2 separate regions of the Homo sapiens genome follow, and region 1 is linked to region 2. The links are contacts of gene promoters, found by promoter capture Hi-C in blood cells and fetal thymus (Javierre and others, 2016). All regions are on one chromosome and are shown on one strand. Each heading gives the region's core, a stretch centred on a gene start or on the middle of the fragment in contact. The rest is flanking DNA. Distances are from core to core; before and after follow the strand shown.

Region 1 (5,501 bases), core at 1-2,500, 2.4 Mb before region 2:
ACTCAGATGATCCTCCCATGTCAGCCTCCCAAGTAGCTAGGGCTACAGGAACCTGCCATCATGGCCAGCTAAAAAACTGCAGTTACTTTTGCACCAACCTAAATATTTTCTTTGGAGATGGGGTTTTGCCATGTTGTCCAGGTTGGTCTTGAACTCCTGGATTCAAGTGTTCCACCTGCCTCAGCCTTTCAAAGTGCTAGGATTGCAAGCGTGAGCCACTGCATCCAGTTAAAAGGAGTAAGTTTAGTATCTCTGAACTTGTGTTTTCTTTTTTTTTTTTTTTTTTTTTTTGGAGACAGAGTCTCACTCTGTTGCCCCGGCTGGAGTGCAGTGGCACGATCTCAGCTCACTGCAACCTCCACCTCCTGGATTCAAGCGATTCTCCTGCCTCAAGCTCCCGAGTAGCTGGGACTACAGATGCAGGTCACCGCACCCAGCTAATTTTTGTATTTTTAGTAGAGACAGGGTCTCACCATGTTGGTCAGGCTGGTCTCAAACTCCTGGCCTCAGGCGATCCACCCACCTCGGCCTCCCAAAGTGTTGGGATTACAGGCGTGAGCCACAGCGCCTGGCCCTTGTGTTTTTTTTTGAGGTGAAGTGTAACATTTTGAAAGTTCTAAAAACAATGTGCTTGTAGCAGTTGATAACTAGCCCCACATACTGTCTCGGGGGATTCCTTTCCAGCAGGGTAGAAAGAGGTATTTGTACCTGCCATTAAACCTGTTGTACTGATTGTCACTCATCCCAGTATTCCTATAGCTGCTTTTAAAACACATGCACTGTCTCCAGAAGCATTGCTTGTTTTGGCAAAGAAGACATAGTCACATGGGCAAAAAGTCTAGACCGTGTCTAATCATCTCCCTCCATCATTGGTGTCAGACTCACTTCCCACCATCATTGTCCCATGCAGGCTGATGCTGCCAATATAGGGGCTTTAAACTTGTCTGGCCCAGAGTATCTTTGCTGAAGTGGAAGAACTTTATCTTAGGGGAACAATGATGAAGAAAGAAGTATTAAAACGGATACCATTATTATAAAGGAGGGAGGAAACAACACGGGAGAAAATGGGAGTAGAATCAGCAAGGGAAAAAAAGCAAAATGGGCAATCAGAGAGAAAGGAGGCCAAAGGATGAGAATGGCGCTGTGAGAGTCATAAATGGTATTACCATATGACCTCAGGGAGAAATGACAGAGTACTAGGGGAAGTGGAAAGAGGCAGAAAAATTAGAAACAAGCAAGAAAAAGGTCAACAATGAAGGAGATTAAAAATTTTTTTTTATTTGGAAATGACACACTTAAAGGTAAATTGCAAGAAGAGAATATAGTGTGTCTGATTGACCTGTTACTAACGTTTTGCACAATTTGCATGTCCTCTTTCTCTCTACACGCTCAACACACACACAGTATTTTTCTGAATAATTTGAAAGTAACTTACATATATAGTGTTCCTTTACCTCTAAATACTTCACTATATCTTAAGAATAAGGTTATTCTCGCTGGGCGCAGTGGCTCACGCCTGTAATCCCAGCACTTTGGGAGGTTGAGGTGGACAGATCACCTGAGGTTGGGAGTTTGAGACCAGCCTGACCAACATGGAGAAACCCCGTCTCTACTAAAACTACAAAATTAGCTGGGCGTGGTGACGCATACCTGTAATCCCAGCTACTCAGGAGGCTGAGGCAGGAGAATCGCTTGAACTCAGGAGGCGGAGGTTGTGGTGAGCCAAGATCGTGCCATTGCACTCCAGCCTGGGCAATAAGAGCAAAACTCCGTCTCAAAATAAAAAAAAAAAGTAAGGTTATTCTCTTATGTAACCATGCTACAGTGACCAAATAAAAGAAATTATTAACATTGATATGGTATTTTTATCTAATTTACTACCTGCATTCCAATTTTGCCAATCAATTATTTATTAATATAGAATTTTTCTCCAATACAGAATGCAGTCTAAGAACATAATCTGGAACAGCTTGTGTTGTCTTTTATGCTGTTTACATTTTAGAAGTACACTGTTTTCACTTTTTTCATAGAATTCTTCTCATTTTGTCTTTGTGCATTTCCTCATGATTAGATTCAGGTTATGCAGCCCCAGGAGGGACGCCGCACAAGCATGTTGTGCTCTCAGGGATTCATAGCTGGAGACACGTAAAGTCCTTCTACCCCTCATTTGTCGTGATAATTTTCATCACCCAATCAAGGTGTCATCTAATTTTACTACTATACTACTAATTTTACTATAGAGTTAGTATTTTTTCCCTTGCAACAGGTTTTCCCTTGTAACATGTTTAATCTGTGAGGAGACACTTTAAAACTATGCAGATATCTTGCTTCTCATAAAAGTTTTCCTCATAGCTTTAGCATCTGTTGATGGTTTTAGCTTGCGTCAGTCTTTTTTATGATGGTTGCAGAATGATGCTTTTCCAGTGCCAGTACCCCCTCAAGTTTTTATCAGTTAGCACTTGGCCTTCTGCTGTAAACAGGAGCCTTCCCTTTTATCCATTTATCTATTATCAGTTTGAATTTATTTCTTTTTTTCAGTGTTTTATAATTCATTACTGACCTTTTCATGCTCAAATTTTTCCAGAATTGGTTAGTGAGCATTCCTTCAAACCACCCTTGTGTCCTTTTGACATGTGCTTATAACTTTTTTGGAGGACTTACTTTCAGACACAGGATCTTCCATTATCTCCAGGGCAGCTTGGTCTCAAGGAGAATTTTAGTAGGAAAGAAAAACAGCAACTAAAACTATAATACCAAAAGCCTGAACAGATGAGATGAAGTAGATAGTTGACAAAGTTTCCTGCTTTTTAGTTGATATAACTCTTGTAGCTTATGTTGTCAACCCTGTTTTGTTGAATGCTTTTTAGTTGCCTGTAGGTGTGCTGAGACAGACATTGCCAGCAGGGTTTTGAACACAGGGATAGAGATGTGTCTGAATGTACGTTACGGTGGTGAGAGTGAGAAAGGAGACCTCTCCTGAGAAGGTGAAAAGCAGCTGTTGAAAAAGCAAGAGGCAGTAAACTGCTCTTGTATTTCAAGCCTTCCCACCACCATTTCTCTAGTCCAGGGGGCTCTTCCTTTTAACATTAAAATGTGTGTCTTCTAATTTCCCAGTGATCCCTCCAAGTCTGTGGGATGGCCTGGAATGTAAAAACACTTAGCAAATACTTAGTGATTAAAAGAAAACAATGGCGGAAGCTTTAAGAATTGAAAAATCAAAATAATAAGTAGAGAATTTGTCCAAACCTCCCCCTGCCGACATTCCCCCATCCCCAGAAAGGAAGAAAATGTATGTAGATAAAAGGACAGAGAAAGACAGGGAAAGCTGTGGTACGGAAAGAAAGAGTGTGGCCACGAGCTTCCAGTATGCTCACTGCCAAGGAATCCTGACACGTTCTGTTTCTCTGTATAAAATCATGAACAAATAAAAAAAAAGAAAAAAATAAATAGAATCAGAAACGTTTTGCTTAGTGGGAAAAAAGCTAATTTTATCTTGGTTGCAGTTATCCAGCAACATTATCTGGACACGTGAACTAATTTTAGCGCAGCTGCTCACGTCAGATTGCTCTTTCAGCATGAAGAATCACGAGAAGTCAAAGAAGCATCGGGAAATGGTGGCCTTGCTAAAACAACAGCTGGAGGAGGAAGAAGAAAATTTTTCAAGACCTCAAATTGATGAAAATCCATTAGATGACAATTCTGAGGAAGAAATGGAAGATGCACCAAAACAAAAGTACTTCTAAATATTAAATGTCACTAGAAATACTTATCACATTCAGAGATTGCATTAAAAGGTTTTTTTTGAGATGGAGAATCACTCTGTTGCCCAGGCTGGGGTGCAGTGGCGCAGTCTCAGCTCACTGCAACCTCCAACTTGTGGGTTCAAGTGATTCTCCTCCCTCAGCCTCCCAAGTAGCTGGGACTACAGGCACACACCACCACGCCCAGCTAATTTTTGTGTTTTTAGTTGAGACAGAGTTTCACCATGTTGGCTAGGCTGGTCTTGAACTCCTGATCTCAGGTAATTCACCTGCCTCAGCCTCCCAGAGTGCTGGGGTTACAGGTGTGAGCCACTGCGCCCGGCCTTAAAGGCTGTTTTATCCCAAGGAAGTTATTCTAACTAGAAAAGATTGTCTCCATATTTTCTAGTTAATGGAACTTTATAGTGTTGAAGTGGATACAGACGTCAACTATAATATTTATAGAACATATTATCACTATATTAAAAGCAGTTTTTATACCTGGCAGTTGATAAGCTAATTACTATCCATTGAACTACAGCCTTGTGTTATTCTCTAAAATGACAATGTGAATACTTTATTTTCCTTTTAATGCTTTAAGATATTAAATATTTTTAATCTTTTACTTCTGTTTTACTACTTTATCACTAGTGTTTCAACTTTTTTTTTTTTCCACTTACTCTTCACAGAGTCAAGTATTTGACATTTCGATTTATATTTGCTCTTAGGCTTTCTAAAAAACAGAAGAAAAAGAAACAGAAACCAGCACAGGTATGTTAGAAAGGTTTTGTTAACATTAAATGCCAACGATAAAGTTGCAGTGCTCTTATTTATTCAGTGTAGTCTGTGTTAAGGAGAGAAACTTATACTCCATAATTTTATGTTGATTGTAAGATTGATTAAAAAGGAATTAGAAATATTTTCCTTTTTTAGTGCTTCCCCCCCCTTGTATGTATGTAATAACAAACTTAATTATGACTGCCAGTGTGTTTAACAAGTATGCATGTAGAATTCCCCTGGTATGAATTAGCTGAATTTTCAGTATTTTAAAAATCTGAATACATCTCACAAAAGGCTTTTAAGTCAAGACAACAATTAAAATCTTGAAATAGGAAAATCTGGGATTGGTCATTTTTTTATCTCAGTTTATTCTGCCAACAACATAAACATTGCAAAAGGAACATTTGGTTAGAAACTTGTAATGATTGTGAGTCTTGAAAAAATGTTTCTATTTTTCTGAAGTTTAAGTAATTTAAATATTTCACAGCTGAAGTCCAAATTCATTCTCTGTCTTAAGGACTATTTTTAAATAAAATGGTATTATGTTGTTATACCTATAAAAATAAAGTGAATTTGTCCATTTTACCAAGGACATTTGGATTTATGGCATTTTAGTATAATCTAGTTATATTAACTTACATTAAGTATTAAATATTTTTAAGAAAACACATTAATGCTTTTTAATAAAACTTCAGATTTGGTTTATTTATCCAAATGGTTATAATAATATATTTAATAGTCTTTTTTAAAATCAGTTTCCTATTCAAAAAATGATATATGACACATGAGTTAATCACTTAAAATTGTAATTTGGAACTTTTTGCTTCAGTTATAAAACCGCATAGCAAATATGTGTTCTTTTTATAAATTGACATCTACCATCATCCATCCAAACACCTTATAATTATTAGTTTGGAACACTTTCTCTTTCCTTTGTGTATGTCAGTACCATTACAGTAAGGACAAAATAAATGGAGAGAG
Region 2 (5,063 bases), core at 1,777-4,276:
CACTTTTTGTAGAGACAGGGTTTTGCCATGTTGCTCACTCAGGCTGGTCTCAAACTCAAGCTCAAGTGATCCACCCCACTTCCAGGTCCCAAATTGCTAGGATTACAGGCATGAGGCACAGCGCCAGGCCTTTTTTTTTTTTTTTTTTTTTTTTTTTTGAGACAGGGTCTCACTCTGTTGCCCAGGCTGGAGTGCAGCGGCGCAATCACAGCTCCCTGCAGTCTCAACCTCCCCGTCTCAAGTTATCCTCCCACCTCAGCCTCCCAAGTAGCTGGGGGTCCAAGTGTGTGTCACCATGCCAAGCTAATTTTTGTATTATTGTATTTCTTTTCTTTAAGAGGCTGGGTTTTGCCATATTGCCAAGACTGGTCTCAAACTTCTGGGCTCAAGTAATCTGCCCACTTTGGCCTCCCAAAGTGCTGAGACTATTGGGCTGAATTCATATTAAAGCAAATCCAGGCTGGGCACAGTGGGTGACACCTGTAATCCCAACACTTTGGGAGGCCGAGGCGGGCGGATCACATGAGGTCAGGAGATCAAGACCAACCTGGCCAACACGGTGAAACCCTGTCTCTACTAAAAATAGAAAAATGAGCCAGTGGCGAACACCTATGATCCCAGCTACTCAGGAGGCTGAGGCAGGAGCATCGCTTGAACCTGGGAGGTGGAGGCCGTAGTGAGCCAAGATTATGCCAACTGCACTCCAGGCTGGGTGACAGTAAGACTCTGTCTCAAAAAATAAATAAATAAAGCAAATCCAGACATCCCATTTAATCCTAAAACATAACTTTAATAGGCCGAAGGTGGCAGATCACCATGTTAAATGGCAGTGGGAACACAGAGGGAGGAATCGATAACTTTAGTGAGGATGGGAATGCTACGAAAGACTTCAGGCCAGGAGTGTGACTTACATCTGTAATCTCAGCACTTTGGAAGGCTGAGGTAGGAGGACTGCTTGATGCCAGGAATTTGAGACCAGCCTTGTAACAGAGTGAGACTACGTCTCTACATAAAAATTAAAAATTAGCTGGGTGTGGTGGCAGGCGCCTGTAGTCCCAGCTACTGGGGAGGGCAAGGCGGGAGGACCACTTGAGCTCATGAGTTAGAGGCTGCAATGAGCTGTGATCATGCCACTGCACTCCAGCCTGGTAACAGAACTAGACCTTGACTCAAAAAAAAAGAACAAGAAAAAGAAAGACAACAAAGAGAAACTAAGGACTTTCACAGGGAGTCTGGAAAAAGTTTGTCAGGCAAAAAAAGAACATTGCAGAAACAATAAAAGTAAGATAAAATCCTGAGGAAATCCTGAAGATGGGGCTTCTTACGGAAAATATGCTAAATTCTCTGTAATCAGAGCAACGGATGAAAAATTGGATGGAAAAGAAGGGGAAGAGACTGGGTGAAAGAGGAAGGTGTGTGTAAAGGCATGAGATATGTAAGAGAAGGACCAGAATGCATGCACTGTTTTTATATCTTGTTTTCACACCTAAGGAGGCCAAAATGAGTAATGTTGTTCAAGATGATAATTGCTAATAGGCCAATCAGGTATTATAAGACACGCTCATTGGTAAGTAGCTGTAGGGAGCAAATACTATCTTTGTTTCTATCATTTCTTTGATTACAAAGCTATCAATGATTTTTATAAATAATCAGAAGTGTTCTCGGTTTACACTGCACAAATTATCCTATTTAGATTACTTTGGTTCTTGCTCACCAACAATCTTTTCTTTCTTACACTTCGCTGGTTTTCTCCAAATTCCATCTCACAAAGGGGTCACTTTTTCTAGCAACTGATGTAATTCCATAAGCCGTGGGGAGCTGGTTATAACTTAAAACTGTTAAACAAATTACTTTCCAGTCACCTATATTGTCAACACATATTCTGCCTTACTCTCCCTGTACATAAGCACTGTGATTTCCCTGTTCTCTTTCTTTATTCCACTGGTAGTTCTTTTAAGATCCTCCAGCATTTCATAACACACATCTCTACACATAATAAAGCGTTTCTTGGCCGGGTGCAGTGGCTTGCGCCTGTAATCCCAGCACTTTGGGAGGCCGAGGCGGGCGGATCACTTGAGGTCAGAGTTCGTGACCAGCCAGGCCAATATGGTGAAACCCCGTCTCTACTTAAAAAACACAAAAATTAGCCGGGCTTGGTGGCAGGCGCCTGTAATCTCAGCTACTTGGGAGTCTGAGGCAGAAGAATCGCTTGAACCCAGGAGGCGGAGGTTGCAATGAGCCGAGATCGCGCCATTGCACTTCAGCCTGGGCGAAGAGGGAACCGCTCCGTCTCAATAAATAAACAAATAAATATAAAGCAAAGCGTATCTTTAAGATAACATGCTAAATTTCCAAATTAACTTCGTTTGCTCTTACGATCTACTCAAACACTAACAGGAGAAATGAACAAATTTGGGACTTGGATCTGGAGATGCTTCTCATATGGCCTTAGCCATAAGCACTTGAGAGCGGCGAGAAGCTCATTAAGGTTGAGGTCTTTGCCTCTTTCTGCTTCAACTGGGAGCTTGCTCTTCACTCTTGCCCTCTCAAGTATCTACAATGAAGAAAGTGAGGAAAGGAAAAAACCTGAAAAGAAGCTGCTTGCTGTTCTCCAAAAATGCAGCCAACAGTGCCATAAATCTCAGCATATCCTCGCCGGGACCAACGCTGGGGATAAGTAGCAAATTAGGAAGTCAGGCGAGAGTCCTTTAGGTTGAGAAAGCAGGGTCACTATCACTCACTTGGGGCAGACACCATAAGCAGCTCGGAAAGGTCCGGGTACATGCGGTCCTCTTGCAACTGACGGTCGATGAGCCGTCCAGCATTTTCCAGAGCTTCCTGCAGGGCTGCGGCAGATGTAGAGGCCGGCATCGCCGCGCCCAACAAAGAAGACGGCATCTCGGAAATCGTAGACACCAGGGTCCAGAAAAAGTCAAAAACCAAGGAGAAACAAGAAAAGATCCAAGAAGTTAGCTTAGATCCGCCGCCTAGGGCGCGCGCGCCAAACGAGCGCCTTGGCGCCTCGACATGACGCACTTCCGCTTCATCCGGTGGGGAACTGGAAGACGCCGTTCTGGCCTGGGAAGAGGAAGCTGTTGGGAGGGGGCTAGAGGTTGTGGGTGGAGCTAGGAGGCTGCTGATGCTTTCGAGGGGGTTGAGGGTTTTGGGGTGTGGCAGGGTAAAATTAGGGTAGGTTATTTAGGGAAGGGAGGGAGGGAAAGGAAGGGAAGGATAAAGGGGAGGGAACAGGGAAGGAGAGGGGCGGGATGGGGTTGGATAGGGTGAGGAGGAAGGAGGGAGGAGGGATACGGTAGGTGGGAGCTAGGTCGTGTGTCTGGCCTAGGAGGTTGGTCAGGTTCCGTTGGTTTAAGCGCGTGCTCGACCTGAGTCTTGGAACTTCCCGCGTCGGTATCCGCTAACTGCAGCTATATGAGTTCGCGCATGAGCGCGCAGTTTGGTTCTCCAAGTAACTGCTTTTGTGAGAGTAGTTAAGAATTGGTAGGTCGCTGTCACAGAGAGGGATATAAACCAGTATCTCACTATATTCTTCGCGGGCTTCAGTGTAAATTAGAATTCATCAGGCTTTTCCATTTGCGTGTCGCTGTCTTTTGACTTTGTTGCCCCTTAGTATAAAATACGTGTTTAAGAAGAAGCTGAGTGCAGGTGGACCGCTGCCGTGCTTTTTATCGTGGCAGAGATAGCAGACAGTTCTAATTCATCTTTCCATTCCCAGCGCTAGTATAGGAACTCGTATGAGATAGGAACCCAAGAGTTCATACAATCCTAAGAAACTGAATACTTGCCTTGTGCCTGGTGCTGGGACTATCAAACTAACACAGTGTTTCCTGTCCTTAAGGTGCTTCAAGCAGAGACAAAGGGCTTCATTATAATTTTTCTATTTGGATAGGTATAAACTATAGCAGGATAGGAGAAAGCAGAGAGGTAAAAGAGGCTTCATTTACTACAGAAGGCAACCTGAGTGGGTAAATCAAAGCACTTTTTAGAAAGCTGCTCTTATTTAGAATCTCACCTAAGAAAGCTTCCAGTTATGTTCTTCAGAATTTCACAAATCAATAACTGAATTACTCTAAATTGGTCTTTTGCTATTTGAATTACATTTTTACTCCCTCAAAGACTTGACTACATTTCTGAAAATTGAAAGTTCTTTGATGTTACCAATCTACACTTAAAATTTGACATAGCCAATATACCAAGAAAAACTGGATTTTTTATCATTGGTATATAGATAGGCAGTTGGGTCTCTAGCTGTGAGTTTACTTTATTTGGTAGACCATAGATTGAAAAGTGGTGGTCTGGCACCGAGTTTGTTTTTAATTTGAGACAAAATACACAAAGTTTTCAACTCCATAAATTGGAAGATTCAACAACGTTGCTGTGATATTCCTGCATAGAAGTAAAGCTCCCCAAAGTGTAATCTAACTAACTTAATTCATTGGCATATTGCCTATGCTTTCCCACTACAACTGCTAAACCGAGTAATTTCTACAAAAGACTGCAAAGCCTTAAATACGGACTCTGGCACTTTACAGGAAAAGTTTGCTGACCTCTTCCCTAGAACAGATAATTATGAATTTTTTTGGTCTTAGGACCCCCTTGATACCCTTAAAAATTATTCAGGATTCCAGAGAGTTTTTGTTTCATGTTGGTTACATCTATTAATATTTGTGAATAACTCAAACTGAAAATTAAAATGTTTAACATTGTATTTAAAAGAGTAACAAGGCCGAGCACAGTGGCTCACACCTGTAATCCCAGCACCCAGCACTTTGGGAGGCCAAGGCAGGTGGATCACAAGTTCAGGAGTTGGAGACCAGCCTGGCCAATATGGTGAAACCCCGTCTATACTAAAATACAAAAATTAGCTGGGCGTGGTGGCGTGCGCCTGTAGTCTCAACTGTTCAGGAGGCTGAGCCAGGAGAATCACTTGAACCTAGGAGGCAGAGGTTGCAGTGAGTCGAGATCGTGCCACTGCACTCCACCCTGGGCAACAGAGTAAGACTCCGTTTCAAAAAAAAAAAAAAAAAGCATACCAAGCTTAATCC

Evidence for each region. Contacts are between HindIII fragments. The CHiCAGO score rates a contact against its expected background, and 5 or more counts as called.
Region 1: a contact is called between a fragment that was not itself captured here and the fragment with the promoter of NUP155 in region 2, in 2 of 17 cell types (naive CD4 T cells and total B cells). The highest score is 6.0, in naive CD4 T cells.

Annotation. Positions count from the first base shown.
Region 1 is chr5:34,941,293-34,946,793 of GRCh38, forward strand. DNAJC21 (DnaJ heat shock protein family (Hsp40) member C21) reads left to right here. Exons shown (of 12, transcript NM_001012339.3): 8 at 3,575-3,733; 9 at 4,469-4,511. Among named protein-coding and RNA genes, the nearest start is that of DNAJC21, 14 kb to the left of the region's middle. The HindIII fragment of the contact is 3,892 bases long and covers 1-3,196 here.
Region 2 is chr5:37,368,080-37,373,142 of GRCh38, forward strand. It overlaps NUP155 (nucleoporin 155), which reads right to left and starts at 3,027. Exons shown (of 35, transcript NM_153485.3): 1 at 2,742-3,027. The coding sequence starts at 2,898. RefSeq lists enhancers at 2,700-2,809, 2,930-3,019. The HindIII fragment of the contact is 10,669 bases long and covers 1-4,037 here.